Regions from separate parts of the Homo sapiens genome. Here region 2 is linked to region 1. Evidence: promoter capture Hi-C in 16 types of primary human blood cells and fetal thymus (Javierre and others, 2016). All regions are on one chromosome and are shown on one strand. Each heading gives the region's core, a stretch centred on a gene start or on the middle of the fragment in contact. The rest is flanking DNA. Distances are from core to core; before and after follow the strand shown. Region 1 holds the start of FOXB1 (forkhead box B1). Region 2 holds the start of ONECUT1 (one cut homeobox 1).

Region 1 (3,440 bases), core at 411-2,910:
GAACGAGAGGGGGCGTGGGCTCCTGCGGGTCAGTGCACCGCCACCGAGTGCAAGGCGGAGGCCGGGCTGGTGAGCGTTTCGCTGGGGGTGGCGGGGCTGCTTTGGCTGGTGGCTGTTTGCGAGGACGTGGGGCTGAGCGAGGGCGGCGAGTTCGAGAGCAAGGTGGGGATGGGCGCTGGCAGCGCAGGCAGCGCGGGCACGGCGGCCGGCGTGGGCTTAATGGGCACGGGGATGGCGGGCAGCGTTTGGCCCGCCGCGTGGCACAGCGGCTTCAACGGCACGCCGTAGGCGCTGTAGTCGCCACTCGCCATGGAGATGGGGGTGGCCGAGTCGATCATGCCGGCGGAGCCATACACGTGTGGCCAGCCGGTGCCCAGCGAGCTGCCCATGGTAGTCAACTGGTTGGGGAGCGGGTAGGCAGCGGGCACCGGCTGCATGGCGGAGAAGGCCAGCCCCCCAGGCATCTTGTATTCCCGCGCGATGATGTTCTCGATGGCGAAGGGGTGCTTGAAGCCCGAGGGCTGCGCCACGCCGCCCAAGTTGTAGGCGGCGGCGGGCATCTGTGGCAGGTGCGTGCCCGAGGCCGCCAGCGCGCTGAGCCGCAGCTTGGCCTGCTGCTGCAGGTACTGCGCCGCGTCGGCTGGCTTGCTGGGCGCCAGGTGGTCGGACTTAAGCACCTTGAAGCGCTTGCGGCGCCGCAGGAAGCTGCCGTTCTCGAACATGTCCCCGCAGCTTGGGTGCAGCGCCCAGAAGCTGCCCTTGCCTGGCTGGTCCGGCCGCCGCGGGATCTTGATGAAGCAGTCGTTGAAGGAGAGGTTGTGGCGCAGACTGTTCTGCCAGCGCTGCGTGTTCTCCCTGTAGTAGGGGAAGCGGTCCATGATGAACTTGTAGATCTCGCTCAGCGGCAGCATCTTCTCGGGAGAGCTCTGGATGGCCATAGCGGTCAGCGAGATGTACGAGTAGGGCGGCTTCTGGTCGCTGTACGTGTTGCGGCCGGGCCGAGGCATCTTCTTCCTCGCCCTCTTCTTGCTCTGGGTCCGCGCGGGCCGGCGGACTGCTCGGATCTGGGAAGGGGGTGGGTAATAGGGAAAGGTAGCATGGATGCACAGAGACACCGGCGGGGTCAGCCAGACCGAGTAACAGACTTCGGGGGTCGGGGGTGGGGCCTGCGGCGCTCGATCAGCCAGCGCCCGGACTCTTTCGCCAGCAACTTTGCGGGCTTAGTGGGCGCGGGAGGGGAAGCCGGCGAACGGCGCGAGGATAGCCGGGAAGTAAGTCGGTACTGGGGCCAGAATAGGGGGCAGGGACGGAACAGAGAGCTGCTCACCTTAAAGTTGCTTCAAGTTGCGCGTCCGCATCCGGGAGGACGCCGCTGCGCGCCGCTTCTCTCTCGGCGCGCACTCGACGCGCACTCCGCGCGCAGCGTCCGGGTCCGGTTGGACTCGGCGCGAACCTGGGCTCTTGAGCTCAGCCCCGCAGCGTCCCGTGCCGCCCGGTCCGCGACGCTCCTGGAGCGTCCTGCGGGCGGCCGAGCTCGGCTGCGGAGTCCCGGCGCGGATGGTGGCAGCGACGTGTTAGGGCTCCGGAGGGCGCTGCTGTGGGCTCCGCGTCTCCGCTGAGCTAGGTGGCTGCCTCCATGTCCTCCCTCGAACCATCTGATAGTTTTAAGCGGTGACAGGAGCAGAAAAGACCCCTGTAGCGGCGCTTCATTAATGTGCCACTTCTTAGCTATCATATGACAATCGCCTTGGGAGGAGGAGGAAGAGGAGGGGGAGCGGGGGCTGCAGAGGGAGGGGACTGAGCGAGAAGGGAGAGCCCGGCCAGCTCTGGTTTCTTTCACACCTATTTACATGGACACCTTGGCCAATAGGAATCACTTCCAGCTCAAGACTGGGCGAGGGGGAAGAGCCTCGGCCACTGGGCAGGCAGCTGGACGCGCCGGCCGGTGTGCGCCGTGTGAAGGTATGAGGAAGCGGCCGCCGCGGAAGAGGGAGCCAGGCGACCACTCACGTTCACAGATGGAGCAGCCGCGCGGATGATGTTTGACATGGAAATTGCTTGGCTGGGGTATTCTGTTTCCTCTGCGTTGTATCCGGTTTGTATCGTTAGGTAACTTTAGGCACGGCTTTCCCCTGAAGCCGACCCTTTTCCTGCGCTTAGCACTACCCGGGGTTGGTTGCATGGGTTATAATAATGAAAACACACCCTTGCCCCCCAGTCCCCGGAGAGTTAGGTCGAAATTTGACTTGACTTTCCTATGCAGCTGCTTCAGCTTTGTATAGTTAGTGTGTAGCTTTGAAAAAGTGATGGGGTTTACAAATACTTTCAAAATGTGATTGGACATCCCCATGTAAGAACCCATTTTGAATGTAACTGTATTGACCAAATTTTTAAAAATTAAAATAGTGTATCTGGGCGAAGAGTCCAGGTATTTGCTTTAAAAGTCCTCCGGGAATTTGGTTGGACACAGGATGGAGGCTCAGGAGCTGTTGGGGCAAATGTTGTGCGGACCTGGGGAGGGCCTGAGTTTGTTTGACACAGTTTATCACCAGGTAAGCCTCAGGGGCTCTCGCTTTTCCCAGGTGGTTTGAAACTTTAGGACTCAGGCACATCCTGGAAGTTTTCATTTTACACCCGGAACTCCCCTTCCCAGCCCTCCCACCCCCCCAACCTCCCACCCCCCATCCCCCAACTGCCGCTTTTTTTGGTATGGAGAACTTATTTAGGATTTAGAGTGTAGCAAAAGCCGCCTGCGATCCCACTAAGACAGCAGTATCTTCTACAACTTGGGGAAAGAACCATAGAGTTTTCCTTCTTGGGGAGCGGGGAATGTGCCTTGGGTCACTCCGCCTGGTGCGAGCAGCAGGCTCCCTTCGGTTCGGATTCGCCTTGGAAGGGTTAAATGAATCATTATTATTATTATCATTATCCTCATCGTCGTCGCTGCCGTCATCATCATCATCATCAAATTGCTATGAAATAAATAGTGAGTCGACCCCGCCTGCATGCACGCACTCTATAAGTACACACCAGGAGTTCCCACGGGTTTCTGCACATTCTCCGACCTTTAAGGTTTTTAAAAGACATTCATTTTACTGCGTTGTTAAAAACTCAATACTTACAGCCCACACAGAATCATCTTCAAAGTCCAGAAATGGGAGAACTTTTTTTTTCCCTAGACGTGGTGATCGTAGAGAATTCTGGGTGTTAAGTTTCAACACTTTAAGTGATATTAGAGCATTATTAGTGGAGCTGTTTGGGGTTAGCATAAAAAAGATCTTTCAGCGCGCGAATGCACACACACACAAACACACACACACACAACTTCATTAACTACAGTTTCGGAGGCGGTCAATAACTCACCAAAACGTAACTTAAACACGATGAATTTAGGAGATTAAACAATTTCATTAATATTGAAATGGCTCTGGCTCTGGGCT
Region 2 (3,692 bases), core at 129-2,628, 7.2 Mb after region 1:
TCTGAGTCCAGATACCCCGGCTCTGAGAGGCTATTCTCATTGTAACCACCGCTTGCCTGGGGCTGAGGCTCGGCGCTGACCCGGCCATAACTGCCACGGGCTGGACAATGGGCACATCTGTCCTTTCTCTGAGGGATGAAAGCACCTAAGCGGACACGGCTCTGCCTTTTGTTGCGGATTTTTTTTCTTTCTTTTGTAAATGAAAGAAAGCCGCGGCATGTGGCGGCCGGGTGTACGTCTCAAACTGGGGGCCTCCGCACACGTCCCCACCAGGCCCAAAGACCAGGTTCGATTCCAGATTGGAGCGTGACTGTGGGAAGGGCGAAATTACTCCCGAAGCTGAATTGATTTTCAAATCTGGAGGCGTCTCTCGGGGACGCCGGGAAAAGGGCGTCCCTAGGGGCCAAGCGGAGACCCGCGCGCCGGCGTCCACCCTGTCTGCGTCAGTACTTCTGGAAAGCAACCGCCTCCGGGTGCTTTAGCAGGAGGGCCTTGGGAGTAACCGCAGGGACGGCCCGAGCCTCCACGGCCCCACCAGCACCCGGAAGTTAACATGGGTACCCTCCAGGGCACTCCCTCCGCTCTCCCTCGCCCCCCTCCACAGGCCGAGTCATCGGCGAAGCGGACGCACAGCCTTAATTATGAGCTGAGCGGGAGAAGGAGCCAGGCGGCGGGGGACAGTGAGGTATGGCCCGAACTGGGATTCTTGGCACTGATTACTCCTCTCCCCAGGGCATGGATGAGAAAGGGTGGGCAAGTATGTATCTGGGAGGACGAAGGGTGCCGGGTCAACGGCCGCCAAACGGACCCAGCCCTTTAAGCAATCTGCACCCCACCCCACCCCAACCCCCATCCCCCAATAGGCCGTGAATTCAAGGGTGGGAAAGCGCACTCCCAGCAGCCCCCCGGGAAATAAAGCTTAGTGGGCTAGAGCCGAAGGGGTGATGACACAGTCCCCAGCTCCCCGGGCAAGCTGCACCGGGAAGCAGCAACTGGAGAGAGAGGGGCGATGTCTCCAAGCACAGCACTCCAGCCGCTAGAAGCCCGACACGAGCGTCCCCGGGCTGGGAGGACAGAGCCCACTCAAGCAAGGGAGGCGAGCGAGCCAGGCGCGAGTCTCCTGGGATTGCAGCGGCGGCCCCAGGTCGCGCTCTGCGCCAATCTTTCGCACGTGCCCGCAGCTCCCTGGCCATCCAGCGCCGCAGGGAAGGCGCTGGGCCCCCTCCTTCATTTGTACCGGGACGCCAAGGGCCTGGCGCGCCGCGACCTAGGGGGCGGGGGCGGGCCTCGCGCATGCGCGCTGCGCCTGGCGGGCGTGAGGGCGGGCCGCTGCGGCGGCGGCGGCGGCGGCTACCGAACCGCGGCCACAGAGTCTGTAACAGTAACAGAGCCATGGCTCAAGCTGGCCAGCGGGGCGGGCAGGCAGCAGACGCGGCAGGCGCGCGGGCCGCGGCAGGGGAGCCGGAGACCTCAGAATTTTAAGAAAGAGAGGGGCGAGAGGTGGCCGAGGCGGGCGGGCTGGGGCACTGCGCTCTCCCAACGGCGCGGATCCTCTTTGGAAATTAATATTAAAAAAAAAAAAGCCGAGGACGCAGAGGGGAAGGTGGGGGGTAAGAGGGAAGGCGAGACACACACACACACACACACGCACACGCACACACGGACACACACACACGGAGAGAGAGAGAGAGAGAGACAGAGCCCCACAGTGAGAGGAAGGAAGGCAACAGTCGCCAGCAGCCGATGTGAAGACCGGACTCCGTGCGCCCCTCGCCGCCTCTGCCTGGCCACATCGATGTTGTGTCCGCCGCCTGCTCGCCCGGATCACGATGAACGCGCAGCTGACCATGGAAGCGATCGGCGAGCTGCACGGGGTGAGCCATGAGCCGGTGCCCGCCCCTGCCGACCTGCTGGGCGGCAGCCCCCACGCGCGCAGCTCCGTGGCGCACCGCGGCAGCCACCTGCCCCCCGCGCACCCGCGCTCCATGGGCATGGCGTCCCTGCTGGACGGCGGCAGCGGCGGCGGAGATTACCACCACCACCACCGGGCCCCTGAGCACAGCCTGGCCGGCCCCCTGCATCCCACCATGACCATGGCCTGCGAGACTCCCCCAGGTATGAGCATGCCCACCACCTACACCACCTTGACCCCTCTGCAGCCGCTGCCTCCCATCTCCACAGTCTCGGACAAGTTCCCCCACCATCACCACCACCACCATCACCACCACCACCCGCACCACCACCAGCGCCTGGCGGGCAACGTGAGCGGTAGCTTCACGCTCATGCGGGATGAGCGCGGGCTGGCCTCCATGAATAACCTCTATACCCCCTACCACAAGGACGTGGCCGGCATGGGCCAGAGCCTCTCGCCCCTCTCCAGCTCCGGTCTGGGCAGCATCCACAACTCCCAGCAAGGGCTCCCCCACTATGCCCACCCGGGGGCCGCCATGCCCACCGACAAGATGCTCACCCCCAACGGCTTCGAAGCCCACCACCCGGCCATGCTCGGCCGCCACGGGGAGCAGCACCTCACGCCCACCTCGGCCGGCATGGTGCCCATCAACGGCCTTCCTCCGCACCATCCCCACGCCCACCTGAACGCCCAGGGCCACGGGCAACTCCTGGGCACAGCCCGGGAGCCCAACCCTTCGGTGACCGGCGCGCAGGTCAGCAATGGAAGTAATTCAGGGCAGATGGAAGAGATCAATACCAAAGAGGTGGCGCAGCGTATCACCACCGAGCTCAAGCGCTACAGCATCCCACAGGCCATCTTCGCGCAGAGGGTGCTCTGCCGCTCCCAGGGGACCCTCTCGGACCTGCTGCGCAACCCCAAACCCTGGAGCAAACTCAAATCCGGCCGGGAGACCTTCCGGAGGATGTGGAAGTGGCTGCAGGAGCCGGAGTTCCAGCGCATGTCCGCGCTCCGCTTAGCAGGTGAGCCGGCCAAGGAGCTGGGCGCGCGGGAGATAAGGTACACGAAAGCCGAAGGGACCAAAGGAGGAAGGGTAGGAGAGAGGGCTGGGTGCGCTTCATCCCGCCCGCCCCTACCCCTAGAAGGGGGACTCCCTGTGCCTGGAAGGGCCAGCACAGGGCTGTGGGAGCAAATTGCCTACTCCAGGGCTCAGGGTGTTGGGCTGTGGAAGGCTCCGAGAGCTAAGCGGCCGGGCCTCGGCGACTGAAGAGGCTCATTTGCGCTCAGGGACAGCGAGGGAAGCTCGTACGGCCTGAGGCGGAGAGAAATCCCCGCACCTGGTGAGACACTCTGCGCCACCTCTCAGTTCAGCGATCCGGGTTTGGGAAGAGGGATGCAACGCGTGCGTGGAATCGCACGCAAATGTTCCTCGCAGGTACCTCTGACACATCCCAGGCGCTGGGCTGGAGCGTGCCGGAGCAGCGTCGATGTTTGGCCGAACTGGCTGCTGTGACCCCCTCCCGCGCTCATTCTTTTGGCGCTGGCTGGGGTGACCTCAATCTAAGAGTATGGGCAAAAAGTTTCAGAGCCATTGGGCGGTGGGTGTGTAGCACAGACGAGTTGTAAGGGTTAGGACGCTCTCTGCGCATGGAATTGGCTGTGGAAAGGAGAGGGAGGCTGACCGTCCCAAGGTCCCAGTGAGAGCTGCAAAGCAATAGCCATGTCCTGGGACCGACTCCGCTGCCGACTCCCTGAGGACTTTGCATTTTGTTTTATTATT

Evidence for each region. Contacts are between HindIII fragments. The CHiCAGO score rates a contact against its expected background, and 5 or more counts as called.
Region 2: a contact is called between the fragment with the promoter of ONECUT1 here and the fragment with the promoter of FOXB1 in region 1, in 2 of 17 cell types (total B cells and naive B cells). The highest score is 8.8, in total B cells.

The regions. Positions count from the first base shown.
Region 1 is chr15:60,002,531-60,005,970 of GRCh38, reverse strand. FOXB1 (forkhead box B1) reads right to left here and starts at 1,660. Exons shown (of 2, transcript NM_012182.3): 1 at 1,328-1,660; 2 at 1-1,064. The coding sequence starts at 1,007. The coding sequence ends at 30. RefSeq lists an enhancer at 1,464-1,979. The HindIII fragment of the contact is 10,028 bases long and covers 1-3,440 here.
Region 2 is chr15:52,788,022-52,791,713 of GRCh38, reverse strand. It overlaps ONECUT1 (one cut homeobox 1), which reads left to right and starts at 1,378. Exons shown (of 2, transcript NM_004498.4): 1 at 1,378-2,934. The coding sequence starts at 1,830. It overlaps LOC105370824 (a long non-coding RNA gene), which reads right to left and starts at 1,284. Exons shown (of 2, transcript XR_001751550.2): 1 at 1-1,284. RefSeq lists enhancers at 1-322, 323-1,091, 1,088-1,382 and a silencer at 1,271-1,340. The HindIII fragment of the contact is 8,870 bases long and covers 921-3,692 here.